3 separate regions of the Homo sapiens genome follow, and all the other regions are linked to region 1. The links are contacts of gene promoters, found by promoter capture Hi-C in human tissues and cell types (Jung and others, 2019). All regions are on one chromosome and are shown on one strand. Each heading gives the region's core, a stretch centred on a gene start or on the middle of the fragment in contact. The rest is flanking DNA. Distances are from core to core; before and after follow the strand shown. Region 1 holds the start of EMILIN3 (elastin microfibril interfacer 3). Region 2 overlaps ZHX3 (zinc fingers and homeoboxes 3). Region 3 overlaps ZHX3 (zinc fingers and homeoboxes 3).

The links. The method cuts DNA at HindIII sites, captures the fragments that hold promoters and counts their contacts. A contact is called where the count stands out against the background at its distance.
Region 2: a contact is called between a fragment that was not itself captured here and the fragment with the promoter of EMILIN3 in region 1, in 2 of the 25 tissues and cell types used here (neural progenitor cells and spleen).
Region 3: a contact is called between a fragment that was not itself captured here and the fragment with the promoter of EMILIN3 in region 1, in 1 of the 25 tissues and cell types used here (H1 embryonic stem cells).

What each region holds. Positions count from the first base shown.
Region 1 is chr20:41,365,103-41,368,525 of GRCh38, reverse strand. It overlaps EMILIN3 (elastin microfibril interfacer 3), which reads left to right and starts at 1,708. Exons shown (of 4, transcript NM_052846.2): 1 at 1,708-2,058; 2 at 3,369-3,423. The coding sequence starts at 1,892. RefSeq lists an enhancer at 2,470-2,971. The HindIII fragment of the contact is 32,668 bases long and covers 1-3,423 here.
Region 2 is chr20:41,199,792-41,203,214 of GRCh38, reverse strand. It overlaps ZHX3 (zinc fingers and homeoboxes 3), which reads left to right. Exons shown (of 4, transcript NM_001384317.1): 3 at 1-1,158. Among named protein-coding and RNA genes, the nearest start is that of MIR6871, 32 kb to the right of the region's middle. The HindIII fragment of the contact is 4,664 bases long and covers 1-3,423 here.
Region 3 is chr20:41,222,533-41,225,955 of GRCh38, reverse strand. The region is part of intron 2 of ZHX3 (zinc fingers and homeoboxes 3); the gene reads left to right. Among named protein-coding and RNA genes, the nearest start is that of MIR6871, 55 kb to the right of the region's middle. The HindIII fragment of the contact is 5,357 bases long and covers 1-3,423 here.

The DNA.
Region 1 (3,423 bases), core at 459-2,958:
GCGGGCGCCTGTAGTCCCAGCCACTCGGGAGGCTGAGGCAGGAGAATGGCGTGAACCCGGGAGGCAGAGCTTGCAGTGAGCCGAGATCGCGCCACTGCACTCCAGCCTGGGCGACAGAGCGAGACTCTGGCTCAAAAAACAAAAACAGAAAGAAGAGGAAAGGACACAGATCACAGTCACAGAGAAAAAAAGGTCACCTGAAGAGGGATATGCGGAGGGAAAGTAGAGGCTGGAGTGATGCTGCTACAAAGAATCCTTGACCAAAGAACGCCAGAGATTGCCAGGAACCACCAGTGGCTGGAAGAGGCAAGGAAGGCTTCTCCCCAGAGCCACTGGAGGGGGCATTGCCCTGCTGGCCCATGGATTTTGGAGTTAGCCTCCAGAAATGTGCAAGAATACATTTCTGTGTGTTAAGCCACTGAGTCTGTGGCTGTTACCACAGCCCTGAGAAACTCACACAACCTACACCTGGAAGCTGGATTCCTTCAGCTTCTGTGTTCTGATTCCAAAGCCTGGGGGAAAGCAGGATGGGCCTAGCTGGGGTCAGATGTCCGCCCCACAGAACCCAAAAGCCACTAAAGCTAAGGGCAGGAAATAGATGTGGGTTTCGGAGCTGCCCCTTCCAGTATCCTTGATAACCATCACCCTATCCAAAAGGCATTAATTCATATCTCAAGGTCAATTTGGAGGGAGGTCTCTCCAAGCAAGCCCCAGAGTTCTGTACACCTATCAGCTCCTGGGGCAAAGACACAGACGGCTGTAGCCACCGGTGTGGATGAGACAAGGCCAGGAAAGTACCGCTCTGATGACAGAATCAGAAGGACTCTGTGCAGGTTAGAGAGTTAGCAAGGTGATACTGAATGAGGACGACGATAAAACCCAACTCTTGGGTTCCAAGAGTCAACTTCACAAGCAAAATGTGGACGACGCCTGGCTTCACCGCGGCAGTGCCTTGTGAGAAAGACCTGAGGATTTTCTCTGACCAGCCGGCTTAGAGCTTCAGTTGCACGAAAAGCACAGCACTTTTGGCTGGGCTGGGGCGGTGATAGGCCTTTCGGGCTCGGTGCAACCCATACCTAAGACAGAGAGGCAACACAGGCGCCTCCAGAGAACCAGAGGTGCAACCGGGCCACCAGGCTACGTGGCAGAGGTTGCGGGGTAAGGGGGAGGTGGGATGCCTGGGGAGAGGTCAGCGGAGTTATCAAACTAAGGTTCCCGGGCAATGATGGGGCCAGGAGGCAGAGCGAGCAAACGGGGATGATCTGGGGTCTATTCCAAAGAGGTGGCGGGGGAGGTGGTGCTGCTGTGCCCCCAGTCACGGCCATCTCGGCTCCAGAGCCCTGGAGAGCAGTTCCCGGGTTCACACGGACTCTGAAGACAAGCGTATCCTGAGGGTGGACGACTCCTGGAAAGTCCACGCCCAGGCTGGCCTCAGGGGTCCGCTTCTCTGCGTCTCGCCCCGTGCCCGCAGGCGACAGAGTGGCTGGTGTGCTCGGGGGGCCTCCCAGGGCGCGGCGGCCTGCGCCCCTGCCACCTGGGGCTGCTCCCTTTGGAACCTCCTGTTCGCAGGCGGCTCCTCGGCCGTCCGCTCGGAGCTGGGGCGAGGGGCTGGCGGCGGCGAGCGGCGCGGCCCCAAGTTTATGCTAATCCGCAAAGAGCCCGCCTCCCGCCTCCCCTCCGCGGCCCCAGCCGCTAGCAGCGCCGGCCACTCCGCGGGACGCAGCCGCCGCGAAGCGCCAGGCGGCCGGGCCAGCGAGCTCGGGGGCCGAAGGGGACCCCGGGACCCTCGGGGCGGGACCCGGGCCGACCAGCGGCGGGGGCGGCGCGGCGCTGCAGGCGGACACCCGGCGGGGGGCACCGCGCGGGGCCGGGCAGAGGCGCGGGGGCCGCTATGGGCCGCCGCCGCCTGCTCGTCTGGCTGTGCGCCGTCGCGGCGCTGCTCTCGGGGGCGCAGGCCAGGGGCACCCCGCTCCTGGCGCGGCCTGCGCCGCCCGGTGCCTCCCGCTACAGTCTCTACACGACGGGATGGCGCCCGCGGCTGCGCCCGGGGCCGCACAAGTAAGCGCGGGCGGGCGGCGGGCGGGAAGAGGGAGGGATGGGCCCGCGCGCGTCGCCGCTCCCACCTGCCCGCACCCGCGGGGGGCGTCGAGGCCCCGGGCACCCCGAGGCCGCTGCACAGAGGGGGCGGCGCCCGGGGCCGAGCCCCTGCCCAGGCGAGCGCCCTACGCTCCGGGAGGTTGCGGGGCTGGCGAGGAAAAAGGAACCGAGGGGGCCTGGCGCGGCGGCTTGGGATCCTGGCAGTGCCAGCGGAAACCTTTCCAGCGAAGTAACATTTTCCAGCTGCGCTGTGTGCAGACTCCGGGCGAGCGGACCAGGTGGAGGGAGAGGAGGAAAGGCGGTCCGCGCGCTGAGCACGCGGGGCTCCCCCGCCCCGGGCCTCCCTTCTCTCCCCTGGCCCGGCCAGGTAGGAGATAGAGCTGCGCATCCGGGCGGCCGCTGCCCTCTCGCAGTCAGCCTGGCCCCAGCAACCCCATGGGAGCCCCAGCGTGGCCGGGCTGCAGAGCCAGAGCGGGCTCCTGGCTCCGGGCCTGTGCTGTGGCACAGCCGTCCACAGCGGTCGGCTTATGCCAGGCAGCCACCTCCTCAGCCCTTGTGGCTCATCAAGGAGCCTGCTTTCCCCGCCTCAGCTTCTGGTGTTTCGTGGGCAGTGGCTTGCGAACTGGCCTCAGTTAAGTGGGCTGGAGGCTCTGCCTGGGGTGCTGGCTGAACTTGAATTCTAGCTGAATTTGAGAGCTGTTGTAGGAGGAAGAGTACCGACACTCAGTGGGCCTGGGTACATCACAGCGAGCCTCCTGGAGGAGGTGGTACAAGAACTGCTCTGAGAGTAAGGGAACAGGACCAAAGGCAGGGGCTGCAAAACTACGAGGAGAGGTGGATTTCCCCGGGAGCCAGGCAGGGAGGAAGGACAAGACATGGTGCTCTCAAAGGAGTCACTGAGTGGGGACTCGGAAGCCTTAAATGCCAAGATAAGGAGTTTGGAATCAGCGAAGGATGGGGGGGTGTGGCAGGGCACTTGAGGGAGAATCCGGGCTGGCCTCTTCCCCACGCAGGGAGGGGCAGCCACATCAGGCTCCTGGTTCCAAATAGTGCTTAGCCCAGGGGCCACCCATCACGGAGGCTGGAATCAGAGACCAGCAGCGGGGCTGGACCCCAGACCAAGGGCGTTGGCTCCCAGGGACACAGAGAACAGACAGAAGAGACATGGGAGTTTGGAGTCCTGCTGAGGCCCACAGATGGAGGTGGGAGGGTAGGCGCCTCTGTGGGCCTCGCTCAGCCAGATATTCCAGGGGTGCCATTTTCTCCTGTAGGGCCCTCTGTGCCTATGTGGTGCACAGGAATGTGACCTGCATCCTACAGGAGGGA
Region 2 (3,423 bases), core at 430-2,929, 170 kb after region 1:
TTGACTCTGTGCCAGAGGTGTCCTTCTCCCCATCGTCCAAGGTCCCTGAGGTAACCTGCATTCCGACAACAGCCACACTAGCAACCCACCCTTCTGCCAAACGACAATCTTGGCACCAGACTCCTGACTTCACACCAACCAAATACAAGGAGAGAGCCCCTGAGCAGCTCAGAGCCCTGGAGAGCAGTTTTGCACAAAACCCTCTTCCTCTTGATGAGGAACTGGACCGCCTGAGAAGTGAAACCAAAATGACCCGACGAGAAATTGATAGCTGGTTTTCAGAGAGACGGAAAAAAGTGAATGCTGAGGAGACCAAGAAGGCTGAGGAGAATGCCTCTCAGGAGGAAGAGGAGGCTGCTGAGGATGAGGGTGGAGAAGAGGATTTGGCCAGTGAGCTAAGGGTCTCTGGTGAAAATGGCTCTCTGGAAATGCCCAGCAGCCATATCTTGGCAGAGCGCAAAGTCAGCCCCATTAAAATCAACCTGAAGAACCTGAGGGTCACTGAAGCCAATGGCAGGAACGAGATTCCAGGGCTGGGTGCCTGTGACCCTGAGGATGATGAGTCAAACAAACTGGCAGAGCAGCTCCCAGGCAAAGTGAGCTGCAAAAAGACTGCCCAGCAGCGGCACTTGCTGCGGCAGCTCTTTGTCCAGACACAGTGGCCAAGCAACCAGGACTATGACTCCATCATGGCCCAGACGGGTCTGCCACGGCCAGAGGTGGTGCGCTGGTTTGGAGATAGCAGGTACGCACTGAAGAACGGCCAACTCAAATGGTACGAAGACTATAAGCGAGGCAACTTCCCACCAGGGCTACTGGTCATTGCCCCTGGCAACCGGGAGCTCCTGCAGGACTATTACATGACACACAAGATGCTGTATGAAGAGGACCTGCAGAACCTCTGTGACAAGACCCAGATGAGCTCCCAGCAGGTCAAGCAGTGGTTTGCTGAGAAAATGGGGGAGGAGACCAGAGCCGTGGCAGACACAGGCAGTGAGGACCAGGGCCCTGGTACTGGTGAGCTCACAGCAGTTCACAAAGGGATGGGTGACACCTATTCAGAGGTGTCTGAGAACAGTGAGTCGTGGGAGCCCCGTGTCCCTGAGGCCAGCTCAGAGCCCTTTGACACATCGAGTCCCCAGGCTGGACGTCAGCTCGGTAAGGAGTCCACAGGGGCCATGGCTATCCTGTGTGGGTAAGGGGAGGAGGCACTTATGGTTGGGCACTGAATTTACTGCACAGGGGCATCTGCTGTCTCTAAGGCTGCCTGGCAGCAGCATTAACCGCCTGGCTGCTTCAGAGGACAACTAGCAGCAGAAGCCATAGGAATATAATATGATAAACGGTTGAGAGCTGTTTTTTGTTTCATGTGTTTTTAAAAACCTGCGCAGGGGAAGGAACATGGTGACCCTAAAGGGGTCCAAGCTTTTCTAGCCATTTCTTAGCAATAGGAGAACAGGTCAAAACATCCTCTGAGTCGGGCAGATCCACAGCCACTGGGTAGGAGACAGCAACAGGACATGAGTTGAAATTCAGCTCAAATTGATGAAAAGGAAAGAGAGCCTTTAATTGTCCTTAGATACATAATGTGCTTTTTTCTGATGATGAAAGTCTTGTGTTTCTCTGGTTATGCCTGATGTAGAAGAAATGTTTAGTATAATGGAAAATCACCTTCCTTCTTTGACATACATGGAATCAAAAGCTTGAATTTTGTTCCTCAGTTTCTCTGGATTGTACTCGAAAGCAAAATGTATCATAGAAGATTATTTTTATTTAAGACATAGTTTTGAAGCCACAGACAAGTCATGTTATTACGTGTTGATTTTCTAGGTTCCTGGTCACTGAGTTCCCAGCCTCTCCCTTCCCTCCTTACCCTTTGACATTTGTGTTCTCATTAGAGACCCCATCAGAGGGCAGCCAGAAGCTCAGGTGAGAGCCAGGAGGGCGGAGTATTGTAGAAGCTGAAGGGATTGGGGGTTCCAAAATGGCAGCATTGCTAGCTGAGTTGGCAATGTGGGAGGGGGTACAGGAGACACTATTTGTGGTGTTGGGCAATGTGATGGTTCCGTGGTGACTTTGGCATGAGCTGCCTCAGTGTGGGGCCTTGTGTTTGGTACCTCATCCCCAGGGCCAACCATAGTGGCCTATCCCTCAGAAATCCCACAGAATTTCCTGGATGGTGTTGCATTGTTTCCATACAATAGCCAACCATTGTTGTTTGTTTATTTTGGCCTGGCAAATCCCAGCTCCTCCACCCCAGTTGCTTTCTACTTAGGATGTCTTAAAAAGGACAAAATTCTTTTTCTTTCTCTGAATATTTTAAATTCATTTGAACACAACAGTTTGAAACATAGTTATGCTATTGTTTCTTTACTGAATTAAGGAAAAAGAGACTTCCTTTTTGGCCCATAATTTGGTGGGTTGGGGGCGGGGAGTACCATGTCATCCATCTGTTTAGCATTTGCAGAAAGCCTGTTCTTCTCATATTAACATACTAAGGCAAAATCCAGTTCCACAAAGCCCACAGTGAGAGCAAACACCTGGTGGAGCCCAAAGCCCTGGTCAGCACTTAGGGTAGGAGTACAAGGGCCACTGGCTCCCTTACAGCCTCCTCCAACTCCAGCCATGTTTTCAATACGGCAACAACAAAACACTCCCCTCCTTTGGGGCCCACAGCTCACAGCCTGCTTTATAAAGTAGCTGATGGCACACCCTGGAGTCAGAACAACAGGTTTTTATGGCTAGTTTAACTTTTTTATAATGCAGAGCAGGTAGTCTCTCCTACAAGTCTTTGTCCAAGTTTGTAAGTTGGTCCTTATATTATACCCAGCTCTGTGCTTCTTGTAATATACCAGTAGGCCAGGGTGTCATGCTCAAGAGAGATGAGGATGTTTGAACAAGTTGATTACGAAAGCTGACATGGAGAATGATGTTATGGAAGATGGCAGTAGCAGCACCAGGAATCTTTTCCTCCACCAAAGCAGTTGAGCTGGCAGTAATTGTCTCAAGCAACTGTTTTGGGACTCAGAAGTCTAGTTGAACACTTGCAACATCCAGGGAAGAGCTTGATGGAGAGGCTTACAAATTTTGATGGTTTTTTTTTGTTTCAGCATCCGCAAGCTCTGCAGCAGGCAACTGTGGAAAATGTTCCTGGTGCAGACTGTTGGTGCCAGGGTAGGCAATAACAACTTTGTCCTCCAAAAGTCAAGTTTTTGTGGCCAGGTGTGGTGGCTCACACCTGTAATCCCAGCACTTTGGGAGGCTGAGGTGTGGATCACTTGAGGTCAGGAGTTTGAGGCCAGCCTGGCCAACATGGTAAAACCCTGTCTCTATTAAAAATACAAAAATTAGCCAGGCATGTTGGTGAGTGCCTGTAATCCCAGCTATTTGGGAGGCTGAGGCAGGAGAATCACTTGAACCTGG
Region 3 (3,423 bases), core at 628-3,127, 140 kb after region 1:
GTAGTATGGTAGTTGCCAGGGGCTGGGGGAAGAGAGTAAGGGGAATAGTTATTTGATGGGTATAGTATTTGCATCTTTTGCAAGATTAAAAAGTTCTGGGCATCTGTTGGTCAACAATGTGAATGTGCTTAACACTACCTTACTGTACACTTAAAAATGGTTAAGACAGTCTGGGTGCGGTGGTTCACGCCTGTAATCCCAGCACTTTGGGAGGCCAAGGCAGGCTGATCACCTGAGGTCAGGAGTTCGAGACCAGCCTGGCCAACATGGCGAAACCCTGTCTCTACTAAAAGTACAAAAATTAGCCCTGCGTGGTGGTAGGTGCCTATAATCCCAGCTACTCAGGAGGCTGAGGTAGGAGAATCGCTTGAACCTGGGAGGCGGAGATTGCAGTGAGTCAAGATCACGCCACTGTACTCCAACCTGAGCGACAAGAGTGAGACTCCATCTCAAAAGAAAAAAACAAATGGTTAAGACAATGAATTTTATGTTATGTGTTTTTTATCACAATTTTTTAAAAAGAAAGAAAGGTAGGCTGGGTAAAACAGCTGATGTACCTCTAGCTGTTACAGTTAATTGTCATCCTTCAGTGGCCAGCCTCTGAGTGGGATGTGGTGGTAATTAGAACAGTAGCAGTAGCTGCAGTAACTATGATTTATTGAGTGTTTCCTGTATATCAGACAGCATGCTAAATCATTTTGTGTACTTCCTATCAATTCACCGAATGTCATGTCAGGTCTATGAGGTAGGTATTAATAGCTCCTCATTTTACCAATGAGGAAATGGATTGTGAGGACTTAAGTCATTTGCCCAGGAATACACAGTCCACAGTGTTAGGGCTCTGTCTGATGTTAGAGTCTTAACTCCATTATCAGCTACCGTTTATTCACCCATTCACTCACTGAAAACGATTATTATGTGCCAGACATTGTGCTATATGCTACGGAAACAGTGGATATAGGCCCTGACCTTACTTACAGAGCTTACAGCCTAGCCAAAGTGAAAGACAATAAGCAGGAAAAGAATCAGATGAAGATCCAGACAAATTTTGATAAATGTTATGAAAGAAACAATTAGGATGCTGTGATAGAGAATAATTCAGCTTGGATTTGGGGGAGCCCCCAAAGACATTTAGATAGGATGTTCAGAGAAAGTCTAACATTCCTTTCTTAAGAAGGTAGATTTCAAAGAGGCAAAGGGGAAGATAGCTCAGAAGTCCTCTGTTGGAATTATAAATGAGTGTCTGAAAACGTGTATCCAAATGGCCTTGTGATGAAAGAATCCTAATCCTCCTTAATTCTAGCAGTGTTTCCTTGTCCCACTGGGTCACTTCACCTCAAAGTCCTCCTCTGTGAGGGGGAGAATAGAACTTGTATCTAGCTCAGTTTTTGGTTGTATTAGTCATGGTAATAGGATGATGAAAACACAGCTTCCATTTAATTCTCTTCTGGTTGGGCTACATCTTGAATGCTTTGTTCAGTTCTAATTGCCACATTTTGTGAGAAATGCAGACAAATTAGAATGTATAGAGAGAATGTGCAATGAATTCAGGACACTTAGCTGCAGAAGTAAATACTAAAAGAGGAAATGATCTTCAACTGTGTGAAAAGCTGATATATAGAAAAGAGAGTTGATGCGTCATGTAGTAAAAAGAGTTGATTTATGTCCAAAAGACAAATCTAAAAGCTGGGAACCAGGTCCAACTAAGAAAGGGGCTTTGTAATAAATTGTCATAAATGATAATTAGCTCCCACATTTGGGAGATACTCAGTTGGAGACTGGATAACAGATTGCTGCAGGATTTTTTAATTAGGAAAGAAGTTGGACTGCATATATTGTCCCACTCCTCCATTTTGGGTATTTTTTTTGTTTTGCTTGTTCTTTTATTTATTTATTTTTTGTTTTGTATATTGGATATCTCTAAGTTATTTTTGAACTATGGCTTTATGGCCAGAGGCAAATGCAATATATAATATATAGTTTTAAGTGAAGTGCTCACATGCACCCCTACAGAAGTTACACCAAAAGCTCATCTGTAGCTATTAGAAGTTTGAAATGTAAAGGAGCACTACTTGGTATTTGACCCAGTTACATACTCTGTAAGGACCTCTACTCTGACGCCATTAGCTTCTCACTTTCTCACTTGTTATTTGTAACAACCCATGTATTTTGGGAAATATGCTAACATTTTTTCCACTTATGTATTTATTCAATTTTTAACTTTTTGTTTTGAATACATAGCACATTAACATTGTTCAGAATTTAAAAGGGGCTACAGGGAAAAGCTTCCCTCAAACACATCTCCCTCTTCCCCTCGCCAGGGGCAAACACTATTATTAGTTTCTCACATATTTTTCTCGAGGTATTTCTAGCGTATAATTTTTATTCTGTGCTTTGCTTTTTAAAAAACTTAACATATATCAAGATAGCTTGAAGGTTAATCCATAGCAGCATAAAAAGCACCTCCCTTGTTCTTTTTCACAAGTGTGTTACTCCATTGTATAAGTGTGCCATAATTGATTTGATTATCTCCTGTTGATGAGTGATTAGGTTATTTCCAGTCCTTTGCCATTACCATGCTGATAGTAGATTACCTTATACATGTATGACTTACCATTGTGCAAAGTATATCAGCAGGCTGCCTTCCTAGAGGCAGAATCTGGTGAGTCAGGGAATGAGCTTTTATAATTTTGTTCTTGTTAAATACTTCTTAATAGAAGTCTTACCAATTTTCACTCCAGCAAGCAGTGTATGAGAGTGCCTATTTCTGCAAACCCTTGCCAACTCAGGATATTATTATCCAATGTTTCAAGCCTTTCCAAAGTAAGTGAAAGAAAAATAATCAGAGTAATTTTAATTTGTATTTCTCTTACTGTGAGTGAAATTGAGCATTTTTTCTTGTGTGTAAGATCTTGCTGGACTTTGTAGTGAGGCCATTGAAGAAAATCATCAATACAGACTAAGCCTGGAAGAGGTAAAAGGAACATCTTATCCACAGTGGTCAGCCAGAGAGAATTTTTCTTTCTTTCTTTCTTTTTTTTTTTTTTTTAACAAATGTTCTTGAGAAATTCAAGTGAGCTCACCAGCCTGCAAGCTATTCAGCCTGTAAACTATCTGGCCCACACTGGAAAATTTCAATTAAAACAAAACAAATGTAATCTCAGAAGTAAAACCACATCCAGAACAATTTCTTTTTTACTGTTTAGTTTTAAATTTAATAAAGTAATTTACTTAGTACTTGGAACAACATTTAGGATGCAAGTACATTTAAAGTAACATGTTTAACTTTGAAAGGCGCTGTCTCACACCTCAGAGAGTGCAATTTCTAACTACTTGGCTCTTATAATACCCTAGATTTGGTCCCAGCCTCCCCCCAACCCCCATTTCTGTAGTTTCTCTGTAGATTTGAGCAGCTTTTGGCAA